5 separate regions of the Homo sapiens genome follow, and regions 1, 2, 3 and 4 are each linked to region 5. The links are contacts of gene promoters, found by promoter capture Hi-C in human tissues and cell types (Jung and others, 2019). All regions are on one chromosome and are shown on one strand. The core of a region is centred on a gene start or on the middle of the fragment in contact, and the rest is flanking DNA. Distances in the headings are between cores, read along the strand shown. Region 1 holds the start of POLR3H (RNA polymerase III subunit H). Region 2 holds the start of PHF5A (PHD finger protein 5A). Region 3 overlaps XRCC6 (X-ray repair cross complementing 6). Region 4 has its middle 61 kb from the start of MCHR1. Region 5 holds the start of L3MBTL2 (L3MBTL histone methyl-lysine binding protein 2).

What was found. Contacts are between HindIII fragments. The study calls those that stand out against the background at their distance.
Region 1: the fragment with the promoter of POLR3H here is called in contact with the fragment with the promoter of L3MBTL2 in region 5 in 1 of the 25 tissues and cell types used here (heart right ventricle).
Region 2: a contact is called between the fragment with the promoter of PHF5A here and the fragment with the promoter of L3MBTL2 in region 5, in 1 of the 25 tissues and cell types used here (hippocampus).
Region 3: a fragment that was not itself captured here is called in contact with the fragment with the promoter of L3MBTL2 in region 5 in 1 of the 25 tissues and cell types used here (pancreas).
Region 4: a fragment that was not itself captured here is called in contact with the fragment with the promoter of L3MBTL2 in region 5 in 1 of the 25 tissues and cell types used here (heart left ventricle).

What each region holds. Positions count from the first base shown.
Region 1 is chr22:41,542,801-41,546,940 of GRCh38, forward strand. POLR3H (RNA polymerase III subunit H) reads right to left here and starts at 1,670. Exons shown (of 6, transcript NM_001018050.4): 1 at 1,191-1,670. The coding sequence starts at 1,301. RefSeq lists enhancers at 1,031-1,868, 1,191-1,290, 1,301-1,390 and silencers at 1,441-1,570, 1,761-1,860. The HindIII fragment of the contact is 26,348 bases long and covers 1-4,140 here.
Region 2 is chr22:41,467,438-41,471,952 of GRCh38, forward strand. It overlaps PHF5A (PHD finger protein 5A), which reads right to left and starts at 1,255. Exons shown (of 4, transcript NM_032758.4): 1 at 1,165-1,255; 2 at 687-710; 3 at 11-177. The coding sequence starts at 1,216. It overlaps ACO2 (aconitase 2), which reads left to right and starts at 1,680. Exons shown (of 18, transcript NM_001098.3): 1 at 1,680-1,745. The coding sequence starts at 1,710. RefSeq lists enhancers at 985-1,654, 1,224-1,785, 1,786-2,347. The HindIII fragment of the contact is 2,873 bases long and covers 1-2,110 here.
Region 3 is chr22:41,653,898-41,658,092 of GRCh38, forward strand. It overlaps XRCC6 (X-ray repair cross complementing 6), which reads left to right. Exons shown (of 13, transcript NM_001469.5): 10 at 3,006-3,135. Among named protein-coding and RNA genes, the nearest start is that of SNU13, 33 kb to the right of the region's middle. The HindIII fragment of the contact is 3,766 bases long and covers 89-3,854 here.
Region 4 is chr22:40,738,659-40,742,908 of GRCh38, forward strand. No RefSeq gene overlaps it. Among named protein-coding and RNA genes, the nearest start is that of MCHR1, 61 kb to the left of the region's middle. The HindIII fragment of the contact is 6,483 bases long and covers 1-4,250 here.
Region 5 is chr22:41,202,802-41,207,004 of GRCh38, forward strand. It overlaps L3MBTL2 (L3MBTL histone methyl-lysine binding protein 2), which reads left to right and starts at 2,511. Exons shown (of 17, transcript NM_031488.5): 1 at 2,511-2,585. The coding sequence starts at 2,562. RefSeq lists an enhancer at 3,355-3,855. The HindIII fragment of the contact is 28,306 bases long and covers 2,373-4,203 here.

The DNA.
Region 1 (4,140 bases), core at 420-2,919, 340 kb after region 5:
GAGACCAGCCTGGCCAACATGGTGAAACCCCGTCTCTACTAAAAGTACAAAAATTAGCCAGGTGTGGTGGCAGGTGCCTGTAATCCCAGCTACTCAGGAGGCTGAAGCAGAAGAATAGCTTGAACCTGGGAGGTGGAGGTTGCAGTGAGCCAAGATCGCTTCATTGCACCCCAGCCTGGGCGACAAGAGCGGCACTCTTGTCTCACACACACAAACACAAAACAGAAAATTATGGGACATCTACTCCCGCCAGGCTTTGGCTAAATGAGGGGATACTTCAGGGAAGAAGGCAGATAAGGTCCCTGCTCTCAAGGAGAGGGAAAGGAAAAAGTCTAAGAAGGAAAGAGAGTGATGTGACACAGAATACCTGGAAAGGGAGGACTGTCAAAGAAACGGCAGTGGGAAGACCTCTCAGCTGGTACTAAGGCACACAGGCACAGCACAGAGAAGGCGCACAAATATTGGCTGCTGGAATGAAGGGATGAACCTCCTGACAGTTAATTCTGTACTACTAGAACTCTCCATCTTCACGAAAACAATGCATTGACCCGAGGCGATGGCGCACACCTGTAATCCCAGCACTTTGGGAGGCCGAGGCGGGGGGATCAAGAGATCGAGACCATCCTGGCCAAAATGGTGAAACCCCGTCTCTACGAAAAATACAAAAATTAGCTGGGGGTGGTGGCGCGCGCCTGTAGTTGTCCCAGCTACTCGGGAGGCTGGGGCAGGAGAATCGCTTGAACCCGGGAGGCGGAGGTTGCAGTGAGCCGAGATCGCGCCACTGCACTCCAGCCTGGACGAAAGAGCAAGACTCCGTCTCAAAAACAAAAAACAAAACAAAACAAAACAAACAACAACAACAACAAAAACAATGCATGGCTGGAAGGACAGCAATATTTTATCCCCATTTTAAAAATGGAAACTGAGGCCCAGAAGGGGTCAGTAACTTGCCTGCAATTGCAAAGTAATTTAGAATTGTGGAATCTAACACTTCCAGTTACAACTCCCTTTTTCAAGCCCATTTTCTTTTGATCCCCTTCAATATCTCCTTTCACGGTGAAGAAAAGTTCTGAGACATTAAGCTGCTTGCCCACGGCCAGGGCTTGGCATGACCGAGGCCGGGCCTGCGGCCAGTGGGCGGCGCTCGCTCTCCCACGCCAAGGCCTGCCCGCGAGCCGTGGGCCCAGTACCTTGTTGGCCAACTTCTTGTTCAGCTCCTCGGCAATGGAGTCGTTGAGCTTCCTCTCAAACTGCCAAGGGGGGATCCGGACGGTGTCCACCATTTCCACCAGGACGAACATCCCGGCCTGCGCTGGGGGCTCTGGGAACAGGAGGGTCAGTCACGCACCAGGGCCGGGGGCAGGGAGAATCCCCGAGCCCCTTGGTCCCGTCCCAGTCGCTGAGGCCCCCAGGCTGGCGGTGAGGTTGCACGGGGCGGTCTCGGGGGCCCGGTCCGGGCCATGCTCCGCTACTACAACATGAGGAAACTGAGGCCAGAGGGAGGCACTCTCCGTCCACAGCTCCGGGTGCGCGCCCGCGCCGCGAGACCCCGCCACGCCACGCCACTCCACGCCACGCCACTCCACGCCCCGCACCCGCGCCACGTGCCGCCGCTCGTATCACGCACCACGCACCACGCACCGCGCACAGCCGCTCGCGCTTGCGCGACTGCGGGCGAGATTCCGAATCCATCGCTTCCGGAAAACTCACCAATAAGAAACCTCTGTCCACCCCCACCCCGCCGAGGCGGGGCGGGGCTGCCTGTGTGCTCGCGCACAGCGTGGGGCAGAGAGAGGGCGAGGAGAGGGCGGGGCCTCCTCCTTTCACAGGAGCAGAGCGGTTCCCCCGCCCCCGACAGCGCTTTCTGTTGCTAGGCGACCTCCGTGCAATCCCGCCTGATTATCCCTCGCCTGGCCTGTGCTTTACCCGCATTGCTGTCCTCTGCTCGGCAGCCAGAGTGATCCTTTGGAAACGCAAACATATATTACCACATCTAAGTTAAAAAAAAAACCCACCGCAAACATAACATGCTTAGCACCCTTAAGTGTTCCGGAGACAAGGAGAATTAGCAGGAAAGGGGCACTTGGGACTGTTCTGAGATGATGGAAATGTTCTGTATTTTGTTTTCGGTGGTATAACATTGACGTATATAATTGTCCAAACTAATTGAACTCGGCAAGATTTTTGCATTTATTTGTAGACATTATGTTCCAATTGAAAAGTTATAATAAATTGGAACAAAAAACACAACCCATTGAACTTAGAATACTAGATCCAAGCCGGGCGTGGTGGTGTACACCCGTAGTCCCACCTACTCAGAAGCCTGAGACAGCAGCATCGCTTGAGTCCAGGAGTTTGAGGTTGCAGTTTGAGGTTGCATGCTGCACTCTAGCATGGGTGACAGTGACACCTCATGTCTAAACGAAAAAGAAGAAGAAGGAGAGGCGGAAGAAGAAGAAAGAAGAAGGAGAAGAAGAAGAAGAAAGAAGAAAGAAAAGGGAAAGAAGAAAGAAAAGAAGAAAGAAAGAAGAAAAGTCCAAAACCTTTATGGTAGTTCACACGGCCCTGCAAGATCTGACCATACCCCCCTCCTATAGCCCCATCATGCTCTGTCTCGCTGACATTCCAGTCTCATTCATCTTCACGTGATAGCATGGGCTAAGAGAATTTGGTAGCTTACCCAAGATCACGTGTTGACAAGTGGTAGAGGTGGGCCCAGTCTGAACCTCACTACCCTGCCTCTAAAAATTGGTGGGGTGTAGATGTATACTGTAGTGGGTTTTTTTGTTTGTTTGTTTGTTTGAGACGGAGGATCGCTCTGTCGCCCAGGCTGGAGTGCAGTGGCGCGATCTTGGCTCACTGCAAGCTCCGCCTCTCGGGTTCACGCCATTCTCCTGCCTTAGCCTCCCGAGTAGCTGAGACTACAGGCGCCCACCATCACGCCTGGCTAATTTTTCGTATTTTTTTTTAGTAGAGACGAGGTTTCACCGTGTTAGCCAGGATGGTCTCGATCTCCTGACCTCATGATCTGCCCACCTCAGCCTTCCAAAGTGCTGGGATTACAGGTGTGAGCCACCGCGCCCGGGCTTGTAGTGTGTTTTAACCAAAATAACAATTTAGGTACTTACAAAAGATACTTGGGGTAAATGACAGAGGCACTTGGAAATGTATGGTGCCTTAATTTGCTGATTTCACAAGCATAGTGATCTCTCAGTGACACTGGCTGCAGTGATGCTAAATGTGGCCTTCCCTGCATCTATGATTTTATTTTTAGGTGTGCTTCTATAGGATTTGAGGTACTTGAGGACAGCAGCAAATGCTACTTCAGCTCTTTATTCCCACAATCCCCTAACACATTCCTAGGAAGCATTGAGTAAAGGTGTTTAGGGATTACCATTAATTCTTCCTCTCAAATGTTTCCTCTTCATTCCACTCCCACTGCTATTGCTTCGGTTCAGGCCTTTTCTTTTTTTTTTCTTTTGAGACGGAATCTTGCTCTGTCGCCCAGACTGGAGTGCAGTGGCATGATCTCAGCTCAATGCAACCTCCACCTCCTGGGTTCAAGCGATTCTCCTGCCTCAGCTTCCCAAATAGCTGGAATTACAGGTGCCCACCACCACACTTAGCTAACTTTTGTATTTTTAGATAAGATTTCACCATGTTGGCCAGGCTGGTTTCGAACTCCTGACCTCAGGTGATCCCCCCCATCTTGGCCTCTCAAAGTGCTGAGATTACAGGCATGAGCCACCGTGACTAGCCAATATCTGGTCATTTAAAAGTATGTGGCGGGGCCAGGCGTGGTGGTTCACACCTGTAATCCCATCACTTTGGGAGGCCGAGGTGGGTGGATCACAAGGTCAGGAGATTGAGACTATCCTGGCTAACACGGTGAAACTCTGTCTCTACTAAAAATACAAAAAAAAAAAAAAAAAAAAAAAAGTAGCCGGGCGTGGTGGCACGCGCCTGTGGTCCCAGCTACTTGGGAGGCTGAGGCAGAAGAATCACTTGAACCCGGGAGGCAGAGGTTGCAGTGAGCTGAGATCACACCACTGCACTCCAGCCTGGCGACAAAGTGAGACTCCGTCTCAAAAAAAAAAAGTGTGTGGTGGCCAGGCGTGTGGCTCATGCCTGTAATCCCAG
Region 2 (4,515 bases), core at 5-2,504, 260 kb after region 5:
GTACACTTACGTCCTTCTCCTGGATGGTGCACTCCTTACAATAATAGGCATCAGAGACCCCAGGTCCTCCACAGATCACACAGCGCCCCTGGTAAGATCCATAGTTACACTCATCACATATGCGCACCAGAGTGCAGGGACGCACATAGGAGTCACAAATCACACACTTGCCATCACCTGTAAGGAAGAGAATGGAGTCATGCTCACAAGTTCTTCAGTCCTCTGCTATCTCCTGCCATGGGGAAATATACTAGTCTCCTGGGAAATACACTAGTCTCCTTTTGACAGTGACTTTAGGGCCCTCCTCTTGGCATCACAAAACTTGGTTTCCCCAGTGTCCATCTCAAGCCCCTCAACACATACAAAAGTTTACCAATTAACATATGTGAAGAGCTTAGAAAAGCACCTCGGAGATGATAAGCCTGTATAATTGCTGGCAAAGTGCTGTGTGTTGGGGAGGGGTCATGCTACTCTGGCGATTCTTCCCGTTGAAAACTAGAGAGATACAGCGTTAAATGTGCAAGCGGCAGTGGGGAGTTAGAGGGGCCTTTGGCTAAAGTGCAGCATTCAGTGTTCACATACTTCCAGGCACATCTACTCAAAGCCCTCTTTGTGGCACTTTTGCTGGTTCCACAGAAAACTGGGAGTGGGAAGGGTGGGTTGTTGGGACGGTGTGTTCCACTCACATTTTTCACACAGTCTTCCGATGGCTGCAAGATGAAAGATGGTAAAAAGTACAATTAGAATAAAGGTTTTGAGAAAGAGGAGAAGTACATCCTCGAGCTGGGGGTAGGGACATGAGTAAGGACTGCAGTGAGTGAGACCTGCGGATAGCCATTTTATCATTACAAATTTCCATATGAACCAAACCTACATCCAAGCACCCTCCTGAATCTCCTCCAACGCCCTGGGCAAGCTCAGAGTTTCTCTGGACCTGGTTCAGACCCCACCCCCCGATACCTGCCTGGGGCTCCCAGCACGCGCACCCCCGCCCTCTTCTCATCAGAGGCCACAAACCTGCGCGCTCCTACAACACCCCGCGCCTGAGAGGCGGGAAACGTGGCGCCTGCGAGGCAAGCCCCTAAGGAAGAGACGGGAACCCCCGACCCCCCAGCTCCTAATACCACCCCTGCCCAGACAGCCAGGGGTAGGGCGCAGTCTCACCAACACCAGCCTGCTTGCGGCAAAAGATCAAATCAGGATGATGTTTAGCCATAGCTCCTAACTAAGCCGGCCACCGGAAGCTTCGGGAACTTCCGTCCGACCTTTAACCCCCATTGTTCCTGCCTCCACGTCGCTGTGATTGGTTCTCTAAGCTTCCGTCAGTTTACAATCCTTGCACCAGGCCCGTCTTGCTCTCGCGCGAGTTTTTGTCGCTGCTGGGCGGCCAGGTCCTGGCAGGTGCATGAAACTCTTAAAAACTCTCCCAGATTTGGATGGCGGAGATAACTAAAATTTGTTCTTGGGTAAAACATCTTTGTGCTTGGTATCTATTTCTGCAAGTGTCTTTGGGCAGTCCGATTTCCTCTTGCGTGTCTGTTCGTTGCACGTGAGCTCCGCCCATTGCGTTCACAGGGTTCTGGCGCCTCTAGGGAGGCCTCGCCTTCACCGTGACGCCCCACTCTTCCGGGCACGCCCCTGCCCAAAGGCTTTAAAGGCGCCGTGTGGGACGTCACTTTAATGCGACCTCATCTTTGTCAGTGCACAAAATGGCGCCCTACAGCCTACTGGTGACTCGGCTGCAGGTGAGCGAGCTCAGGGACCTCTGGGTTCACGGGGGCGGGGTGCCTCCTACTGTGCCGGCGGCTGTGGGCGAGGCAGGGCGAGGCGGGCCCAACCTGGGGCCAACTTCTCGTGTACCTGTCCCGGTTGTGGGCCCGGCACCCGTGCCCGCTTCTCTGGTGCCCTAGGTCAAGGCGTCCCCGGCACAGTCAGCTTTCCTGGCCCTGTCCCTGCCTCGCAAGAAGCGTGGGCCCAAGCAGCGGCGGCCGGGTGAAGAGCGGAGGCACCTCTTTCTTCTTTTTGAGGACAGCATTGCCTGCTCCCGTGGGGTGTGTTTCCATTCCTCAAGGTGAGGACAAGGTGACTAGGGGGCGCGGTCGTTGTTGAGTCTTCTAGGCCCAGTTCCTGAGGCCTCACTTCCCATCTCTTAGCAACAGAGGCATGACAGCATCTACGGTTGCCAGGCCTGGAGTCTGGAGAAGAAACTAGGACCCTGTACCACCTTTTGAGGACCCTGCGGAACGTGGAATGTCGGGGAGGGGGGCGGTCTTCTGGGCCCATACGTAGTAAATAATATAATAATAGTCTCTCACCTTTGCACAAGATTTGAGGCCTGTTTTAATTCTTCATAATATTATTTGATTCCTGTAATCGTAGGAATGAGGTGGTTTTTCTCATTTGATAGATGATAAAGCTGGTAGAAAGTAGGTGAAAGTTCTGATTCTCAAGAGTGTCACCGAAGTGCTGTGGCAGAAGCATGGGCCCTACCACCACTCAGTTCTTGTTTATGTCAGCCTGCCCTCACAGAACTTTATGAACCACGGTGCAATTATTTCTGTTTGTCAGAATGCAGTACGAATATTTTGAGCCTCACAATAAGTTGCTTGTCAAATATGGGAGGATAAGGAGACTCCAGTTTGACCTTGACTCCCCTGTTAGGAGCTATCTAGAAAGCTGACTGACTGCCAGATGATTTTTTCACTTCTAACTTGACAGCCCTGGGAAGGTGTTATACTCAGAGGTTCAATGTCAAATGTGTACTTTGTTAATAAAAATCAAGCAAGCATCTGTAGACATTCTCTGTCAACCTTTCACATTTAACTTTGTGAATTCCTTTTGGATCAAGTGGCGCAACTTTGATAATAGAATTTTACGAGTTGTTATGCGTTGTACTCTCAGGAAGCTTGTGGTACTTGAACTTATTTTTCATCACATTGCTTAAATTTAAACTTGAACTTATTTTTCATCACATTGCTTAAATTGAAACCATATGGTTTAAAGTAAAATCATCATTTATCTGAAAGAAAATATTTCTGATCTCAATTCCGGGCTAAGGGAAAGGATTTGCACCTAATTATCTCTTTACATCTTTTTTTTTTTTTTTTTTTTTTTTTTTTTTTTTTGAGACAGTCTTGCTCTGTCACCCAGGCTGGAGTGCAATGGCGCAATCTTGGCTGACTGCAACTCTGCCTCCTGGGTTCAAGTGACTCTCCTGCCCTCAGCTTCCCGAGTAGCTGGGATTACAGGTGTGCACCACCATGCTTGGCTAATTTTTGTATTTTTAGTAGAGACGGGGTTTCACCCTGTTGACCAGGCTGGTCACAAACTCCTGACCTCAAGTAATCGGCCTGCCTTGGCCTCCCAAAGTCCTGGGATTACAGGTGTGAGCCACCACACCTGGCCTCTTCACGTCTTTTGATTCTCTAGGTTAATGATGTGGAAATAGTTGTTTCTTCCTGTCTCATGATTTAAGGGAGTCAGGCAAGATTATTTGATAAGATAAATGATTATAGAGTTCTTGAACTTGGAAGAGAAGAATAGTATCACACCATTTTGAACCGAAAAGGATCTTGGAAAGTATGAGTATTAGACTGGTGTAGAAGGAGATCTGGGCTCTCTTTCCTGATCCTGTGACCTTGAGTAAGTTACTTCCTGAATCCATTGTCCATTGGAGATGATCTTCATTGAACAAATGTATATTCAGCAAGTGGATGTTAGAAAGTGATGAGCAAGTAGAATGAGTTTACAACCATCACGTAGACTAACCTCTTATACAGGTGGAAAAATCTAAGACCTTGAGAGCCTGGGTGACTTCCAGTAGCAGAGTCAGGATTAAAATCCTGGTCTCCTTGTTTGTTCCTTCAGCTAAGATGAATGAACAATATTATGCAGTTTGCACACTGCCTCCCAATAACCAGGCTGTCTCAAATAACCAACTAACACGGTTTCTCTGAGAAGCTTGTATATTTACCCCTTTTGTGCTTAGATACATTTGAGAAGTGATGGTTACTACCTTAATAGTCATGTATGCAAAACCCTATGCCTGTAGTCAATTCATTCCTACCTCATTCACCATATATTTACTGAGCGCCCAATGCTTGTTCTGGATACCGTGGTAAGCAAAGACAGTCCCTGTTCTCGTGGAGCTTCCACTGTATTCTAATGTACCTGACTGCAGAGGGCCTTGGAGATCTTTCTCAGCCAAATATAGTATTTTTCTTTCCTTGGCTGGACCAAAGGTGAAGGTAGATAATAGAATGATGGGTGTTACTCCCAGCACTAAGAGTACCTAACATTTATCTTACTGTGTATGACTAATTTCACATGACTCTGTGAGATGAGGCAGGCCTATTAGCCTGATTTATAGATGAAGAAACAGGATTAGAGAGCAAACATAGTGTTATGGTTGAGAGCATGGACTCTGGCATCAGGCAGCCTAGATTTGAATACCGTAATGACTCTAACACTCATGTAGCTGTGTTTTGGGTAAGTTACTCAACCTCTCTGCACCTG
Region 3 (4,195 bases), core at 722-3,221, 450 kb after region 5:
AAGGCTGATCTGCAGCTAGGATAGAGAAATGTCTGCCTAGGGGACTGTTTGCAGATTACTGACACAAGTTCTTGGGACCTCACTGCCGACACCTTTCTTTCCAAAGCCATTGTTTGGCACCCTTGTAATGTCTAATGTTTGGTTTAGTTCCTATACAAACCAACCATGGGGTTTGCCAAGATAGTGAGGTATAGCGGAAAGACCATGGATTTTAAAGTCAGATTTGACTTTATCTTGTGCTTATGTGTCTGGAAGCTTGCTTGCTTTTGTTTTGGGCCCATCTCTGCTGCTTGTTAGCTGGTCAACGTGGGCAAGTAATTTAACCTTTCTGTTTAATATTCCTTAGCTACAAAGATGGGCGTTCTGGAGCACCTTTCCCTCGGGGTGGTTTTACATTTGAGATGAGTTACTGTAGTTTTAACTTTGATCCTCAGCATGCTCAGGAGTGCTCAGTTACTAAGCTATTGTATCTCAGCTCCAAATTCACCCTTTTATGCTCTGCACTACTGAGGCTGAAATGATCCAAACCTAATTTCATCTTTCACAGCTGGCTCTCAGGCTGTGTCTATAGTGGGTGCTAGAGGGAGACCAAAGGGCAGAGGAGAGGTGAGGGATTTGCTTCTTCCTGTTTGCTCAGTGTGGTCAGCATTGTCAGCAAAGGCTTTCACCTGGTAGCAGCAGTTAGTTACAGGGCGTAGATTTTTTAGTCCTTCCAGAACCAGCCAGTAACTGAACTAAAATCAGCCTGATAACTCTTACCTGTTTCCTTTTATTTATCACGTGGTAGAGGGTAAGGAAAAAAGGGGCGAGGGTGAAGCTCAGAGAAGGCCCCCATGGAGCTGGGACTTAGCCCTCCAGGGAGGAGGCACTGTCCGGCTAGCTCTGGATGTATCAAAAAAGCTGGAGACTGGAACCAACTGCCGCCAGGTAAAGGGTCTTTGCTGGGGCAATACAGGTAGGAACAGTAAATACAGGAGGGCCGCAACCACAGTTTTGCTTTCTGCAGTTTCAGTTACCCATAGTCAACCATGGTCCAAAAATTTTAAGTGGAAAATTCTAGAAATAACTTAAAAGCACAATCCCACCTGGGGCAGGAATCATCTGTTTGTTCAGCATCTCCACACTGTAAATGCTACCCACCAGTTAGTCACTTAGTAGCTGTCTTGGTTATCAGATTGACTGTCAAGGTAATCAGTATTGCGGTGCTTGTGTTCAGGTCACCCTTATTTAATAACGGCCCCAAAGCACAAGTGTAGTGGTGCTGGCAGTTTGGATATACTAAAGAGAAAGTCATAAAGTGCTTCCTTTAAATGAAAAGGTGAGAGTTCTTGACTTTAAGGAGGAAAAAAATATATGCTAAGGTTGCTAAGATATATGGTAAGAAGGAATCTTCGAACCACAAAATTGTTAAGGGAAAAAATTCATTTTAGTTTTTTTTTTTTTTTATGCTGAGGTTGCTAAGATACATGGTAAGAAGGAATCTTCTATCCACAAAATTGTTAAGAAGGAAAAAGAAATTCATCTTAGTGGCCAGGCGTGGTGGCTCACGCCTGTAATCCCAGCACTTTGGGATGCCAAGGTGGCGGATCACGATGTCAGGAGATTGAGACCATCCTGGCTAACACGGTGAAACCGTCTCTACTAAAAATACAAAATTAGCCAGGTGTGGTGGCAGGCTCCTGTAGTCCCAGCTACTTGGGAGGCTGAGGCAGGAGAATGGTGTGAACCCGGGAGGTGGAGTTAGTGAGCTGAGATTGCGCCACTGCACTCCAGCCTGGGTGACAGAGCGAGACTCTGTCTCAAAAAAAAAAAAAATAGTTTTTTCCCCCCCTTCTTTTTTTACATAAATTGAGACAAGGTCTCACTATGTTGCCCAGGCTGGTCTCGAACTCCTGAGCTCAAGTGATCCTCCTGCTTCAGCCTCCCAAAGTGCTGTGCTTACCGACGTGAGCCACCATGTCCGGCCCAAGCTAGTTTTCCTGTTGCACCTCAAACTGTAAAAGTTACTGCCACAGTACATGAGAAGTGCTTAGTTAAAATAGAAAAGGAGGCCAGGCACTGTGGCTAATGCCTGTAATCTTAGCACTTTGGGAGGCTGTGGCAGGTGGATCGCCTGAGCCCAGGAGTTTTGAGACCAGCCTGAGCAACATGGTGAAACTCTGTCTCTGCAAAAAAATAAAAAAAAGTAGCCAAGTGTGGTGGCATTCACTTGTAGTCCCAGCTACTTGATAGGCTACTTGAGCCGGAGAGGTAGAGGCTACAGTAAGCTGTGATCACACCACTGCATTCCAGCCTGGGTGATAGCAAGATCCTGTCTCAAAAAAAAAAAAAAAAAGATGAAGGCTGGGCGCGGTACCTCACGTCTGTAATCCCAGCACTTTGGGAAGCCGAGGTGGGCAGATCCCCTGAGGTCAGGAGTTTGAGACCAGCCTGGCCAACATGGCGAAACCCCATCTTTACCGAAAGTACAAAAATTAGCCGGGCGTGGTGGCGCCTGTAATCCCAGCTATTCAGGAGGCTGAGGCAGGAGAACCGCTTGAACCTGGGAGGCGGAGGTTGCAGCGAGCCGAGATTGCCCACTGTACTCCAGCCTGGGCGACAAGAGTGAAACTCCATCTCAAAAAAAAAAAAAGATGGAAAAAAACATTAAATATTAAATTTATGAACGTATGACATGGACAAACATGTTTCAATTGACGGCAGTCAGGTTTGGTGCTGTCCGAGGTTTCAGGTATCCTCCCGGGTTCTTCAAACATATTCCCCAGGGATAAGGGATCTACTGTATACAGGAAGGGGCACCCCTCCTCCCTTGCAGTCTTCTGGAAACTGCAGAGGGAGTCTGTTAGGCAGATGATAACAAAAACCAGCTGGTGGAGTTCAAGAAATGGGGCCTACGGGGCCCCAGCCCCAGCACCACAGGACATAAAAGGAAGAATTTGGAGCTGAGAAACAAGTGACTGCAACACTTGAAGTCAAATCAAAGAAAATTTATCTCCTTTCTTCAGGCTTCCAGCTGGTCTTTTTACCCTTTGCTGATGATAAAAGGAAGATGCCCTTTACTGAAAAAATCATGGCAACTCCAGAGCAGGTGGGCAAGATGAAGGCTATCGTTGAGAAGCTTCGCTTCACATACAGGTGAGTCAATCTCAGGCTTTCTGGAACTGCCTCCTGAGTTGAAAATCTTATTAGAAACAGCTTGGGCATAGGCCAAGAGAATGGCACTACTCTTTTCAGCAAACTGACAGATTACTACTTGTTATTAATAGTTTTTTGAAAGCCATATAGAGAATGGAACCTTTTATTATGTTGGAGACTCTGGGATTTTGTGGTTTCTCTGTTGTGCTGTACTTAGCCAGATTAGTTGGTTGAACAAATTTGAAAAAATAGCAGGATTCTTATTCGCCCTTCTCCTTGATTGTGTTTGTTATTCCACAATGAGCAAAAGTAAATAAATCTAGTGTAAATTGTTAAAGGCTTAAAAGAATGATTAAGTAATTCAAGTCATTCCCTCTCACATATATAATAGACCAACTCTCAGAGCCTGCATAATGGGACACTAAACGTAATTTTTTTCACATGTCATTTTTAAAAATTTATTATTATTATTATTATTATTATTATTATTATTATTATTATTATTTTGAGACAGGGTCTCTTGTCACCCAGGTTTGATTGCAGTGGTGTTACTGTAGTTCACTGCAGCCTTGACCTCCCTGGGCTCAGGTGATTCTCCCACCTCAGACTCCTGAGTAGCTGGGACCATACCCTTGCACCACCACACCTGGCTAATTTTTGTATTTTTTGTAGGGACGGAGTTTCACCATGTTGCCCAGGCTGGTCTGGAACTCCTGAGCTCAAGCCATCCGCCTGCCTCAGCTTCTCAAAGTGCTGGATTACAGGCATGAGCCAGGGTGCCCAGGCTGGTTTGCTTTCTAAGTTGACTTGAGACAAAGTCTTGCTCTGCCATCCAGGCTGGAGTACCGTGGCACGATCATGGCTCACTGCAGCCTCGATCTCCTGGACTCAAGCAGTCTTCCTGCCTATGCCTCCTGAGTAGCTGGGACCACAGGCGTGCACCAACATGCCTGGCTGATTTTTAAATTTTTTGTAGAGACAGGGTCTCACCATGTTGTCCAAGCTGGTCTTGAACTGCTAGACTCAAGCATTCCGCCTACCTTGGCCTACCAAAGTGCTG
Region 4 (4,250 bases), core at 1,497-3,996, 460 kb before region 5:
GACCAGCTTGGCCAAAATGGCAAAAACCAGACTGGCCAAAATGGCAAAAAAAAAAAAAAAAAAAAAAAAGAAAGAAATACAACAGTTAGCCAGGTGCAGTGGCACATGCCTGTAGTCTCAGTTACTCAGGAGACTAAAGCATGAGAATGCTTAAGCCTGGGAAGCGGAGGTTGCAGTGAGCTGAGATCGCACCACTGCACTGCAGCCTGGGCAACAGAGCAGGACTTTGTCTCAAATAAATGAATAAATAAATAAAAGTTGGAAAGAAAATAATTATGCTTTCAAAACCACTTCATAACATGGGGAGCTGGATATGTTCTGATGTAGAATAACAAACAGACGCAACTGTGCTTATTACACTGATTTAAATGATATACATCACAATCGTGGTTTTATAGACATACACTGTGCACAGACAAATAAATGAGGAATACATTAAATATTAACAATGGTTGTTTGGAGGTGGGAGAACTGTGGGTGGTATTTTCTTCATCCATTTATCTAACTGATCCAAGTTTTCTTCAGGGAGGAAACTTGTATAAATGAGGGCATACAGGCCCGGCGCGGTGGCTCACGCCTGTAATCCCAGCACTTTGGGAGGCCGAGGCAGTCAGATCGCTTGAGTCCAGGAATTCGAGACCAGCCTGGACAACATGGTGAAACCCCATCTCTACAAAAAATACAAAAATTAGCTGGGTGTGGTGGTGTGTGCCTGTAGTCCCCGATACTTGGGAGGCTGAGGTAGGAGCATTGGTTGAGCCCAGGAGGTGGAGGTTGTAGTGAGCTGAGATTGTGCCACTGCACTCCAGCCTGGGTGACAGAGTAGACACCCTGTCTTCAAAAAAAAAAAAAAAGGGGGCAAAAATTTTAAATCATGTCACGATTGGGAGTAATTTAGGCAAAACTTGCCTGGGAGCAAGGAGTATAGACTAGAAAATTGTTTGAAGTTCATGCTTTTGTAACAAGGGCCGGTTCTAGAATTTGGCATCAGATGGGTAGCAGCTTTGGAAGGAAGCATAAGAAAGGGACACACGAGGACTCCACACAGCCCCAATTGTCACTTTCCACCACCACATATCCTCTTTAATTCTGAGAGTATTCAAAGGAGTTTAACCATTCAGTGGATGATACAATTATCACAGTGGCATAGCCAGTTGTCCTGTTAACAGCCATCACATGTGACCCTGGGGAGCCCAGGCTTCTTTCGTGGTCAGACCTAAACCTGCTGAGAGAGGGTGGTTTCATGTTAGTCACTGACAGAGCACATCTCCAGCTCTCACTGTGGAATCCAAGTTTTCCTTTCGCCTTCCTGCCTCATTTGGTTCTGCCCATTTGCTTGGAGCCAGAAAGGGAAAAGGAAGAACACAGGACATCCTCTCCGCTCTGCAACTGACCCAGGTCTGTCTATAACACCTCCTGACAGTGCCCAGAAATCCTCCTATTTAAACCATTGGCCCCTGATGCGATTTCTTTTCCAAATATGCTCATAGATCATTGCAGAGACAATGTTAAACTCGAGAGCATTATCATCTGTATAAATCAGTCTCATCTTTAACCGTAACTCAGAGCTTCCATGTAGGAATACGCACCGAAACACAGGCTACCGTCTGCGTTCTCATGGAGCTTACGATTTAGCTGCACTGATAGGATATTTACACATGAAGAAATAACAATGTAAGAAAATTCATAGACACTAATTTTTAGGGACAAAGCAAACGTCTTTTTTTTTTTTTCCAGACTGAGTTTCTTTCTTATTGCCCAGCCTGGAGTGCAATGGCACGGTCTTGGCTCACTGCAACCTCTGCCTCCTGGGTTCAAGCGATTCTCGTGCCTCACCCTCCCAAGTAGCTGAGGTTACAGGCACCCACCACCATGCCCAGCTAATTTTTTTCTGTTTTTAGTAGAAACAGGGTTTCACCATGTTGGCCAGGCTGGTCTCGAACTCCTGACTTCAGGTGATCTGCCCACCTTGGCCTTCCAAAGTGCTGGGATTACAGGCGTAAGCCACCACTCCCAGACACAATCTTGTATGGATGGCTATCATCCAAAATAATTGCAAGCTTCCTGTGGGGGCTGGGATTGCTTCATAGTCCTCCATACACCCCCTCAGGGTCCCCACAATGCCTTGAACACCATAATGCTCTGGTAAATGTTTTGGTCTGGAAATTCGATGTCATTCTAAGTCCATAGTCCTTGTCTAGTTAGACACTGGTGCTTCTATCCTAACGAAGGTGAGTCTTCCTCTCTGCAGATGGTACAGTCAAGATGACCTAGCTGTAACCTGGCTACTAGAGGACCAAGGAGAAAAATAAACTTCTACCACGCTTTCGAAAACAAGCACTCAAACTCAGGAGATACTTGATTGAAGTTGAAAGAGTGGTGCATTCCCCAAGGCAGTACCCTCATGAATGGGATTAGTGTCCTTTAATAAAAGAGACCCAAGAGAGGTCCCTTGCTCCTTCCAGCATGTGAGATTACAGCAAAAAGATGCTGTCTATGAACCAGAAAGTGGGCCCTCACCAGACACTGAATCTGTCGGCACCTTGATCTTGGATTTCCCAGCTTCCAGAAGTGGGAGAAATAAATTTCTCTTGTAAATAAGATAAACAGTTTATGATATTTTATTATAGCAGCCCCAAGGGACTAAGACAGAAATCCAGTTGTACACCAGATGGTTGTAACACGTTCAGTGGAATGAAAACCTTGTGTCTTGGCAGGGTGCAGTGGCTCATGCCTGTAATCCCAACGCTTTGGGAGGCTGAGGTGGGAGGGTCACTTGAGGCCAGGTGTTCAAGACCAGCCTGGGCAACATAAGGAGATGTCCAGATAGCCGGCAAAACAGTGTTCCTGGGTAGGCCTGTGATGGTGTTTCCAGAAGAAATTAGTGCTGTGAGTCGGTAGAGTGAGTAAAAAAGAGTCTCTTAAAAAAAATGTTGGCCGGGCACGGGGCTCACGCCTGTAATCCTAGCACTTTACAAGGCTAAGGCAAGTGGATCACTTGAGGTCAGGAGTTCGAGACCAGCCTGGCCAACATGGTGAAACCCCATCTCTACTAAAAAATACAAAAATTAGCTAGGAATGGTGGTGTGTGCCTGTAGTCCCAGCTGCTCAGGAGGCTGAGGCATGAGAATCACTTGAACTCAGGAGGTGGAGGTTGCAGTGAGCCGAGATCGTGCCACTGCACTCCAGCCTGGGTGTGGTGGTATGCACCTGTAGTCCCAGCTACTCAGGAGGCTGAGGCAGGAAGATCGCCTGAGCCCAGGAGATTGAGGCTGCAGCACTCCAGCCTGGGCAACAGAGCAAGATCTGGTTTCCAAAAAACCCAAAAAAACCTTGTGTCTTCATGTGGAGATTAAGTATGGTTTAAGGAGATGTGTATGGATGACAAGTTCAAAAAGGATGGTCGTGTGATGGTTAATTTTATGTGTCAGTTTGACTGAGCTAAGGGATGTCCAGATAGCTGGCAAAACAGTGTTCCTGGGTAGTCCTGTGATGATGTTTCCAGAACAAATTAGCATTGTGAGTTGGTAGATTGAGTGAAAAAGATCCTCCCAGGTGGATCGCGAGGTCAGGAGATCGAGACCATCCTGGCTAACACGGTGAAACCCCATCTCTACTAAAAATACAAAAAATTAGCTGGGCATGGTGGCGGGTGCCTGTAGTCCCAGCTACTCAGGGGGCTGAGGCAGAAGAACGGCGTGAACCCGGGAGGCAGAGCTTGCAGTGAGCGGAGATTGCACCACTGCACTCCAGCCTGGGCGAGAGAGTGAGACTCTGTCTCAGAAAAAAAAAAAAAAATTAGAAAAAGATCCTCCCTGTCAGTGGGTATCATCCACTGTTGAGTGGACAAAAGGTGGAAGAGGGGCGAATCTGCTCTTTCTGGGCTGACATCCATTTTCTCTTGCCCTTGGAGGTCAGTGCTCCTAGCTCTTGCTTTTGGGCTTAGACTGGGACTTACATCATTGTGCCTCTGGTCCTCAGTCTTCAGATTCAGACTGAATTATACCACCAGCTTTCCTGGTTTTTCAGCTTGCAGATGGCAGATCCTGGGACTTCTTGGCCTCCATAACTGCATGAGCCAATTCCCATAATAAATCTACACTTGATCTTAGCCACAAGGCCGAGAAACGATCAATTCCTATAATAAATCTCTCTTATAATATCCTGTTGGTTCTGTTTCTCTGGAGAACCCTGACTAATATACCTTTTTTTTTTTTTTTTTTTTTTTTTTGAGACAGTCTTGCTCTGTT
Region 5 (4,203 bases), core at 1,261-3,760:
TTTTAGCTGGGCACAGTGGCTCAGGCCTGTGATCCCAGCACTTTGGGAGGCCAAGGCAGGCGGATCACGAGGTCAGGCGATCAAGACCATTTGCCCAGGTGGGCGAATCACCTGAGGTCGGGAGTTCGAGACCAGCCTGACCAACATGGAGAAACCCCATCTCTACTAAAAATACAAAAAAAAAAAAAAAAAATTAGCCAGGTGTGGTGGTGCATGCCTGTAATCCTAGCTACTTGGGAGGCTGAGGCAGGAGAATTGCCTGAACCTGGGAGGCAGAGGTTGTGATGAGCCGAGATCGCGCCATTGCACTCAAGCCTGGGCAACAAGAGTGAAACTCTGTCTCAAAAACAAACAAACAAAAAAACTCTAATGCCGTTCCCTTGCACAGAATAAAATCCAAGCACTCCACAAGACCCTGAATGACCTGGTCTCAGCTTTCTCTCAAACCTCATCTTGTATCACCCTCTCCATGTTTTGCTATATCCATCTACTCTCTCTGTCTTTCTGTTTATTGCATACCAAGCTTGAGTTGGCCCCAGGACCTTTGCACTTGCTGTTCCACCAATGTGGCCTTTGCACTTGCTGAACCAACCTGTCTTTTTCTTTTTTTTTCACCACTATCTTATTCCAGAACATTTATTTTTATTTTTATTTTTTGAGATGGAGTCTTGCTCTGTTGCCCAGGCTGGAGTGTAGTGGTGCAATCTCGGCTCACTGCAACCTCTGACTCCCTTGTTCAAGCGATTCTCCTGCCTTAGCCTCCCAAGTAGCTGGGATTACAGGCACCCGTCATCACACCCAGCTAATAGTTGTATTTTTAGTAGAGATAGGGTTTCATCATCTTGGCCAGGCTGGTCTCGATCTCCTGACCTTGTGATCTGTCCATCTTGGCCTCCCAAAGTGCTGGGATTACAGGCGTGATCCACTGCACCCGGCCAGGTCAATGAGTTTTAAAGATCACCTGTGTGTATTAAAGGTGAAGATTTAAAAAGGGTGACCACAGGAGGTGGAGGTTGCAGTGAGTGGAGATCCCACTGCATTCCAGCCTGGGCGACAGGGGAGACTCCATCTCAATCAATCAATCAATCAATAAAAGAAAGAAAGAAAGGGTGACCAGTTGAAGGGCTGCTGCAATGGGCCGGTGGCTTGTATTAGAGTGGTAGTGGTGGAGGAAATACAGGATATATTTTGGAGGTAGAAAAACCAACACGTTGACAGCATGGATACAGGGGTTTAGGGTGGAAGGGGTTGAAGGAAAGAAAGACCTCTAGGAAGAGTTTGACATCTCCACGGCGGACTTCAAATTTAGGCATATATTTTATATGTATTCAGCCTCCACATATTGCATTTAGAGTCTCAATTAATTCACTGGGACACGGCATGGCATAGGGAAGGAATCTGTACTAAATTTGGAATCCCAATCCTGTGTGATCTTGGAAAGTGCCTAAACCTGAAGTGGTGAAGAGCCACCACTTCCTCTTCTTTCAAACGGTGATAGGATGTCTAAGGGTTTGAAAAGATGTTTGCAAAGCTCCACAACAGCACCTAGAACTCAGGGTGTCTAAGGAGGTTGTGGGAAACCCTAACGGGATGAGGCAGAGAGCCTCAGATTCGAGGTTTTTACCCAGGAGAGAGTGGTGAAGGAGGAATGTTGTAAGATTTTGAGCAGGCTGGACATTTACAGTATTGAGAAAAAGAATATTCCAGTTTCAGCCGGGCGCGGTGGTTCACGCCTGTAATCCCAGCACTTTGGGAGGCCGAGGCGGGTGGATCCCGAGGTCAGGAGTTCAAGACCAGCCTGGTGAAACCCCGTCTCTACTAAAAAATACAAAAATTAGCCGGGCTTGGTGGTGGGCGCCTGTAGTCCCAGTTACTTGGGAGGCTGAGGCAGGAGAATCGCTTGAACCTGGCAGGCGTAGGTTGCAGTGAACCGAGATCGCGCCACGGCACTCCAGCCTGGGCGACAGGGCAAGACTTCGTCTCAAGAAAACACACACACACACACACACACACACACACACACACACACACACACACACAGAGTATTCCAGTTTCTTCCTTTTTTTTTTCTTTTTAATCTGGAGTAGTCCAGTTTCTGCCTGAGTTGGAAATGAGTCCCTCTGCTATGCATCCCAGCAAAAGGGCACCTTAAATATCTAACCCGGGAGAGTACGAGGTTATTCCTGGAGTCTGGAACAGTGACTATCATAGGTGCTCAATAACCGTTTAGGGAAGAATAACATCCAGTGAAGTCAAGAGGTTGGCGTAATTGGAACACTCGGCGTGAGGCGCACCAGGTTTCCAGCGCCCCTGGTTTCCACGTCGCTATGGTAACGACTCACCCTGCACACATGCGAACTACAATTCCCATAACCGCCCGCGGCTTCCCCGCCCACAGGGAGAGAATGGCGGGAGCAGGCACGGAACCGGCTTTTCCTCCTTCCTGCAGCGTGATTGGCCCGCGGCTCAGGGAGGCGACCAATGAGTGCTCTCGCGGAGAGCGACGGGGCAGGCCAATATGGCTTCCTGCACCTGGTGACGCTTGGCGAAACTGAGGTCTCATGGAGAAGCCCCGGAGTATTGAGGTGAGAAGGCGAGGACTTAGCGTGACTGGGAAAGGGAACTCCGAGAGCCTCGCTCCGTGGGCCCTTCTTTAGGGCTTTTAGCGACGCCTGGAGGGTGGAGGGTGGGAGGATGGATAAACTGAGGTAGTTAAACTGAGCCAGGGGCAGAGGCAATTGACGTTACTTTTTGCCCCTCTCCTGCTGGGGCCAACGTTCGGCGAGGAGTTCAGGGAGGAACAGCCGTCCCTGGCCTGGGGGAAAGGGAACTAGGTTTAGGATCTGAGAGCTCCTGAATCTTCCTTATCCTGCTTGTCTCGTGGCTGTGTTGTTTAGGGCTTGTGAGGCCTGTTACATGAGGTGGGAAGTGAAGGGAGATTAAAGTTGGGTGAACATCACTCCTTGTCTGTAACGTTCACGTGCATTATCTTCCAGTACACTCACAGCAATCATGTATTATTCTTTCGTCTTTGTCGTTCAAGCCACTGAGGCTTAGAGGTGGTGCGACACCCCAGGAAGTTACCCCGGCTGGAAAGTGAAGGAGATTGGCACTAAGTCTGTCCGCCTCTGAAACTTTGCCTGTTATGCTTTTCACACTGTACTGCAACCTGGAACCCACTCATCCTTTTTTTTTTTTCTTTCAGACGGAGTCTTGCTCTGTCACCTAGGCTGGAGTGCAGTGGCGCGATCTCGGCTCACTGCAACCTCCGTCTCCCGGGTTCAAGCAATTCTGTCTCCATCTCCCATGTTCCTGGGATTACAGGCATGTGTCACCACACCCGGCTAATTTTTGTATTTTTAGTAGAGACGAGGTTTTGCCATGTTGGTCGGATTGGTCTCGAACTCCTGACCTCAGGTGATCTGTCTGCTTCACCTCGGCCTCCCAAAGTGCTGGGATTACAGGCATGAGCCACTGCACCCCGCCTCATCCTTTAATCATTTGGTTTCTGGGCACCTTATATTTAAGAGACGGGGTGTTCCTATGTTGCCCTGGCTGGAATGCAGTGGTTACTCACAGGCGTGATGACAACGCACTGCAGCCTCTAACTCTTGGGCTCAAGCAATCCTTACACCTCAGCCTCCTAAGTAGCTGGGACTATAGGTGGTCTCTGTCACCCTGCCTGACAAGGGTACCTATATTTGAATTGTTTCCTTGCTGGGTGCGGTGGCTCACGCCTGTAATCCCAGCACTTTGGGAGGCCGAGGCGGGCAGATCACGAGGTCAGGAGATCGAGACCATCCTGGCTAACATGGTGAAACCCCATCTCTACTAAAAATACAAAAAAATTAGCCGGGCGTGGTGGCAGGCACCTGTAGTCCCAGCTACTCGGGAGGCTGAGGCGGGAGAATGGCGTGAACGTGGGAGGCGGAGCTTGCAGTGAGCCGAGATCGGGCCACTGCACCACTGCACTCCAGCCTGGACGACAGAGCGAGACTGTGTCTCAAAAAAAAAAAAAAATTGCTTCCTTTCTAGCATATTTGCATGTGTAGTTGCAAATATAAGGTGGAATAGCTCAAACTTTCTGCAAGGGTAAACGAGAATAATCATGTGGAGAATAAGAATAGCAAGTCACACTTTTAGAGCTGTTACTGACTGCTGGAAATAGAACTAGGTTTTACATATCTTATCTCAATCTTCGTA